Linked DNA regions of Homo sapiens: region 2 is linked to region 1. Evidence: promoter capture Hi-C in 16 types of primary human blood cells and fetal thymus (Javierre and others, 2016). All regions are on one chromosome and are shown on one strand. The core of a region is centred on a gene start or on the middle of the fragment in contact, and the rest is flanking DNA. Distances in the headings are between cores, read along the strand shown.

What was found. The method cuts DNA at HindIII sites, captures the fragments that hold promoters and counts their contacts. A CHiCAGO score of 5 or more calls a contact.
Region 2: a contact is called between a fragment that was not itself captured here and the fragment with the promoter of FAT4 in region 1, in 1 of 17 cell types (monocytes). The highest score is 6.1, in monocytes.

What each region holds. Positions count from the first base shown.
Region 1 is chr4:125,313,134-125,316,492 of GRCh38, reverse strand. It overlaps FAT4 (FAT atypical cadherin 4), which reads right to left and starts at 1,538. Exons shown (of 18, transcript NM_001291303.3): 1 at 516-1,538; 2 at 1-93. The coding sequence starts at 81. The HindIII fragment of the contact is 5,556 bases long and covers 1-2,581 here.
Region 2 is chr4:124,293,648-124,297,006 of GRCh38, reverse strand. The region is part of intron 3 of LOC105377406 (a long non-coding RNA gene); the gene reads right to left. Among named protein-coding and RNA genes, the nearest start is that of LINC02516, 260 kb to the left of the region's middle. The HindIII fragment of the contact is 2,684 bases long and covers 173-2,856 here.

The DNA.
Region 1 (3,359 bases), core at 289-2,788:
CACTCGAAGGAGCTGAGATACTGATAGAGTGTGCAACGGGAGCCACGGGCGGCCAGTAGCCCTGTCTGGTGCTAAGTCCATGGTCCTGGCTCCCTAAAACGATGTGATAAAGAGAAGGAAGGGGTGAAGCAAACGCAATGATATTTACAGGGATTAAGGAGCGCCAGCAAAGATTCAGCTGACGGCTTGGTCTGAGACCTCTGCTATTTCAAAGAACCTCCAGTCCGGCAAAAGCAAGTAGCATCAGCAAAAGACTCTAGGTAGCCAGTTGAACGCGGAGTGCAAGAGAGATGCTGTGGCGAAAAGCGGCAGGGCATTCCGCGGGACACTCCTGTGAGCTGAGTTCCCAGAAAAGTTTCTCAAGCCTCTTATATATGCCCCCTTTTACTTTGTTTTTGAATCCAGATAGTCTGAGCGTTTTCACCCGGGTGGATGAGAGTTGGGAGAAGTTGCCTGTATCTAAGGTATATGAGGAATCATTGCAAAGAACGGTCTTCAGAAACTTTAGAACTTACCCGCAGCGAAGAACGTGAAGAGGGAGGAACAAACGTCCAAGCACAACTGCGCACCGGGGAAGGGGTGGTGGGGAACCGGGAGAATCGAATTTCTTTCCCAAAAGCTGGAGGCGATGGAATTCCTGGAGTCCCCACTCCTCAAAAACCAGGCTGCAACGCCCCTCCAACAGGGCGCCGGCAGTGGCCGCTGAGGCCCAGGCGGCGGCGTCTGCGCGCAGGCAGTTCGGGAACTGCGTTCCAAGCGCTAGCGTTCGCGCTCTGGCTCCCGTACCCGGGAGCGCTCAACTCTGCCCCTTCCCCTCCTGCAGCCGCCGCCGCCGCCGCCCCTGTTGCGGCTTCAAGCCCGTGGTCCGGCACAAACAACAGCCAGGGCTCCTCGGCATTTTTCACCTCTGCCGGGGCGCCTGCCGACCCATTATTTGTACATCCAAATCGAACGCAGTTTCCCCTTTCTTCTCGGCCTCGCAGGGGTCGGGCAGAAACAGCGTGCGGTCCCCGAGTCGCCCTCCCCTCACCATGCCAGGGGGGGTCGTTCTCCGGCGGCCCCAGTCAGAAGCCCACTCTAGCGCGCCTCGCCCCTGCCCTCGCTATCTCTGCTTTTATTGTCCCGTGTCAGTTTCACTTTGTAATCCACAAGGCTTTTTGTTTGGGGCGGGGGGTGGTTGATGCCTCTCTCTCCTTCACAGTTGGCAGCGGAGGCGGCGAAGTCGGCGCTGGGCTGTAGTGACGCCCTCCGCAGCTCCGGACGGCGCCTGTCAGCGCTCTCCCTCTCGCCGGCCGGGGCCGAAGGTTGGACTGCGGTGGAGCTAGGGCTCCGCGAGCCCTTCTCCACCTCCCGCCTGGTCCCTCACACTCTCCCCGCCCCTTCCCCGCCGCACAGGCATGCACACACACACACATACACACGCACACACACACACACAGCGCGTCGCCGAAACACAAACAGAGGGGGAGGGAAGACCGCGAGCTGGAGCAGCACTCAGAAACTTTGCTCGACACTCATTGATCCCCGCACTTTAGTTCGCCTGGACTCCCCCTAGCTCCCAGTCCTGTCACCTTCTGCCCCTCCCTCGCCCCAGCCCCATTGGGCCGGAGCTGAAGCAGCCCCGACCGGCACTCCTACCGCGAGCGCCCTCCGCCTTGCCCGGCCTCCGACTGGCTTCTCGGGATGCTAATCACTTCAGCCTCCCGGAGGGCTGTAGGCGGTCTGGTGTGGGAGCACAGCGAGGCGGAGGCGCTAAAAAGGGGGGTGATTTTTTTTCTTTTCTTTTTTTTTTTTTTTTTTCCTTTTCGGCCAAATCTTGGCCGGCGTCAGAGCAATAACAGCAAAAGGCTGCCGCAGAATAGATGGGGGTGGGGTCAGGTTTGCAGATAAATAACTTTAGTGGCAGGGTCTGGGGGAAGACCGTTAGGTTGTTATGCTAGTAATAACTCAGGGGTAAGGGGGTCGAGAGAAATAAAAGAAAGGCGGGGGGTGAGGGTCTGTTAAAGCGGGGAGGAAGGATTAAGCAAAGCCTGTCTGGGAATGCACAGTGCAGATTTGCTTTAACCATTTCCTGCCCCTTCTCTCTTTATGCAAGGGATAGAGCTGCCATACAGTGTGATCCCACAGAATCCAAATCAAATCCTCCCCTTTGCTCCTCTTTCTACACAGTGGGCTCCCTGCTGTCTAGGGCGAGCTAAACTCTAAATCTTCACTCACTTGCCCCTCTCCCCCACCTTCCAGGTGACTAGGGGGCAGGAGGCCTCCGTAGCAAGGGCACTTTGGACTTCCTACTATAGGAAAGGCCAGGGGAACTCAGTGTTTGTTTTGTTTTCTTTCCCAACTGGATTCCAGGTGCCAGTAGCCCAAACCTTAGGGTTTCAACAACAATAATAATGGCAGCCCTTTGAAAAGAGGGAGATCTTTTCCTGTTGCAAAGTTAGTTTGGAATTTTGATCCCTGATGGAGTATTTCCACCTCCACATTTTTTAGTCAAAGGAAACCTAATAAAGTTTTATTTTGCTTTTCAGTCTGGGAGAAATAGATACGAGAAAGTAGAAATAAATAAAATAATATTTAAGCTTAAGTTTTTAAAAATACCCACATGCCACTTAATGCACTCAGATCAACTCACCCACTATTCACTGCAGTTAATTTTTGTGGTGGCATGCATCGTTTCTTTAAAAGAAGAAAAACGTTACTAGGAATCAGATCGATATTTTTCCCCTTTAAGGGAACCAACCTAGAAAATAAGAATTCAAGCCAAACAATGCAAATACAGGGCATATGTCATACATTTCTGCCACAAGGATCCCTCACAAACGTAAAACTTTCTGCGCCCAGAGAGGGTTCAGTCATGAGTAAATACTGCCCTCTGCTGTTCTACGTCAGTCTTACATCTTTAGTCTCCTGGTTTCTTGCTTAAAATTAAATGCAGAGACTAAAAGGATCGGATTACAAGGCTAATTCCTGCTTCTTGCCTAGGGATAGCAGCAAAGAAAACGATCTCTAAGACTTTCCTAGTGCCTTTCTTATTTAGAGTAAAAAAAAAAAAATCAAGAATAGTAGGACAGACAGCAAATTCAAGTCTTGATGATGCAGGCAGCCTGTAACTCAAAACTGATTTATGGAAACATGATTTCTAAAGCTATCACCAATTCCTCTGTTTAGGTTAAAAAGCTAACTTCTACATATTCCTCTACTGTAATGTAATGAGTTAACTGGAAACAGACAAAAAAGTTAAATTTAACCATTTATGTATTTTAAAACTTGAAAACATTAGACTCTAGACTTTTTAGAGACATTTAAGCCTGTTTTTCAAAAATCGTATTTTTCTTAAGTTACAATCCTAACACCATTAT
Region 2 (3,359 bases), core at 265-2,764, 1.0 Mb after region 1:
TTAATTTTCTCTTCACCTGAAGAGAAGCATCTGACCTGTTATTAAACCTCCCTATTTTATTTTATAGTAAGACTATTGTAATTTTTAGTTTGAGAACATATATTTGGTTCAATTTCCAATCTGCTATATCACCCTTTTATAATTTCCGGATACCTGCTGATAATTTCAAGCTTTGGTTCTATTTCTTTGGACACAGAAAGTATAATTCTTATAGCATGTATCTAATAATGCCATTATCTGTAGTCTCTAGAAGTTTTTATTGGAAAATATAATGCCTGTCTTCCCAAATAGTGCTCTTACAAAATTCTCTAGTGCTGCTGATTCTTCTGGCTTTTGCTTTGTTTGATTCCTGTCCCTTCATGTGCCTGGTTATCTTGGATTTTGTGCTGCATATTATGTTTAAATTTTATTTGTAGAATCTCTTTTCTAAAAACTATAAAAATTTGTGAAAGAAAATAAAGAAGTCTAAATAAATGGAGAGATATGCCATGTTTGTAGATTTGAACATGAAATAACAGTTACAAAGACAATTCTCTGAAAGTTAATCTATAGATTTAATGTAATCCCAATAAAAATCCTAGAAGTCTTTATATTTTGGTCAACATTGCTAGTAAATTATAAAATTTATGTAGAAATGCAAAGAAACTGGAAAGCAAAAGCAATATTTTCAAAGAACAAAGTTGAAGGAGTTTCTCTACCTTACTTCAAGACTTACTATAAAGCTATACTAATTAAGACAGTTGGGTTTGTTGAAATTATAGACATATGGATTGATGGAATAGAACAGAAAGTCTATAAATAGACCTAAACTTTTACTTCATATTGCGTACCAAAATCAACTCAAAATGGATCATAGATCTAAATAGAACAAGTGAAACTGTAAAACTTTGAGAAGAAAATATGAGAGGAACTCTTTGGGACTTTGGTGTAAAGTCTCTTAGATAGAACTAAAAAAAGGATACACCATCCAAAAATGAAAAATTGGACTTCAAAATTCAAATAACAGAAACACAAACTTTTGCTCTTTCAAAGACACCATTAAGAAAATGAAAAGGCAAGCCATAAGTGGGACGATCATGTTCACAGCATGCATATCTAATAAAGAAATATGTAAAGAATTCTTGCCACACAATAGGAAGAATACAAACAACCCAATCTTAAAATGGCTATAATTTCAAAACAGATTATAGGGAATGGGAGTGAAGACAAATTTAAAAACCACCCAAGTATAATGATGTCTTAGTCAGTTTGGGGTGTTATAACAAAATACCATAGACTGGTGGCTTATAAACAAAAAACAAAGCAAAACTTTTGTCTCACAATTCTATAGGCTGGAAGTCCCACAACCAGGGTGCCAGCATGGTTGGGTTTCGGTCCTCTTATGGTTTGCAGACTACTATCTTCTTTTCATGTCCTCACATGGCACAAGAGCAAGAGAGCTCTCTAGAGCACCTCTTATAAGGCACTAATCCCATTCACAAAGGCTCCACTCTCATGACCTAATTACCTTCCAAAGACCACCACCTCTTAGTTCCATCCTATTGGGGGTTAGGATTTCAACACATAAATTTTGAGGGACACAAACATTCAGTCCATTTCATTACTCCTCTGCTCCCCCACAAATTTGTGTCTTTCTCACATGCAAAATGCATTCATTTCAACCCAACAGCCCCCAAAGCATTAACTCATTCCAGTATCAACTCCAAAAACTAAGGTCCAAAGTCTTATCTAGATATCATCTACATCAAATATGAGGGAGGCACAAGTTATGATTTATCATTAAATTTCTCTTTAACTATGAACATGTGAAACAAAACAGTTACGTGCTTCCAAAATGCATTGGTCAGACAAGCATAAGATAAACATTCCCACTCCAAATACAGAAATAGGAAAGAAGGAAGAGGTGAAGGGTATCAAGTAAGTTCAAAACCCATCAGGGCTCAAGAATTAAACCTTAAGGTTCAAAATAATCCTCTGGCTAACTTCTCTGCCCTCCAGACCCCCTAGAGCAGTGGCCCCATTTCCACAGCTCTGCTGAGCAAGACTCATGTGTTCATGGCTCTTCTGGGCTAGAATCACATGCTGGTGACTCTGCTGGTCTTGGGTCATAGCACCATGACTCTGGGTGGTGACCTTGCCCCCTGGCTCTATTGGGCACAGCCCATGCAACAGCTGTGGCATGGAAGCCCATACCTAAGGCATTGAGTGTGAGCATTCTGGCCCACCTGAATCAGAGAGGATGCCCAAGCCTTTGAAATTGCTCTGTGCCTCTGGCCCTTGCACTCTGAGCCTGTGGTGAAGGAGGCAGCCCTGATTATCTCTGAATCACCTTGTGGGGTAAGTGGTATCATCCTTCTTTATTTTCAAGAACAATGCTTGGCTCCTGTTGAGAGGGCTATTTAGGTTTGTGGTTGAAATGGTCACTTGGCCATACTCCTAATCGTCTCTTCTCAACACACTTTCTCAGTGTTTTCAAAGTGGATAGGCTGAGAATTTTCCAAATCTTTAAATTCTACTTCCTTCTCAACATTTCTGTCTTAAAAGCATTTCTTTCTTCTCACACTTAACTATAATCAGGCAAGAGTAACCAAATTGCTCCTTCAATGCTTTGCTTAGACATTTCCTCGGTTAAATATCCAATTTGGTTGCAAGTTCTACCTTCCACAAAACAGTAGAACACAAACACAAGTCAGTTAATTTTTTTTGCTGCTTATTAATAACAAGGATCTCCTTTTCTCTATTGTCCCATGACATGCTCCTCATTTCCATCTGAAGTCTCAGCAGAATGGCCTTACCATCCATATTTTAGCCAACATTCTATTCATGTTACTTAGGTGTTCTCTAAGAAGATAAGCTTTCTCTATAGTTCTACCCTTTTCTTTCTGACAAGATTCACCTTTAAAATTTTGTTCATGGCTATATCGGATTTGTCTAGCATACACCTGAAAACTCTTACAGCCTCTACCCATTACCCATTACCACAGCTGCTTCCATATTTTTAGCAATTTGTTATAGCAGGACTCCCACTTTTTGATATTAATATCTGTCTTTATTAAATTACAATTTCAATAGTTCAGTAATAAGTAACAAGTTTTTGAATTGGGCAGTTAAGAAATACTAGAAATAAAAAAGCATGTTGAAGTATTTGCTGTGGTAAAGAATCAGGTTTGGCTTCCTGTATCATGACTTTAAGACTGGACATAGAACCAATGAGTAGAAAAGCCATATACTGGGATAGAGTGGAGGAAAGGAAAATAAGTTGAATTTTGAATATAGAGGCTTTAGGTACCTAATGCAACATTTACTGATTCTTCCTAGGGAGACTAGTTGGTGATTACTAAAAGGGATTTTTCAGAAAA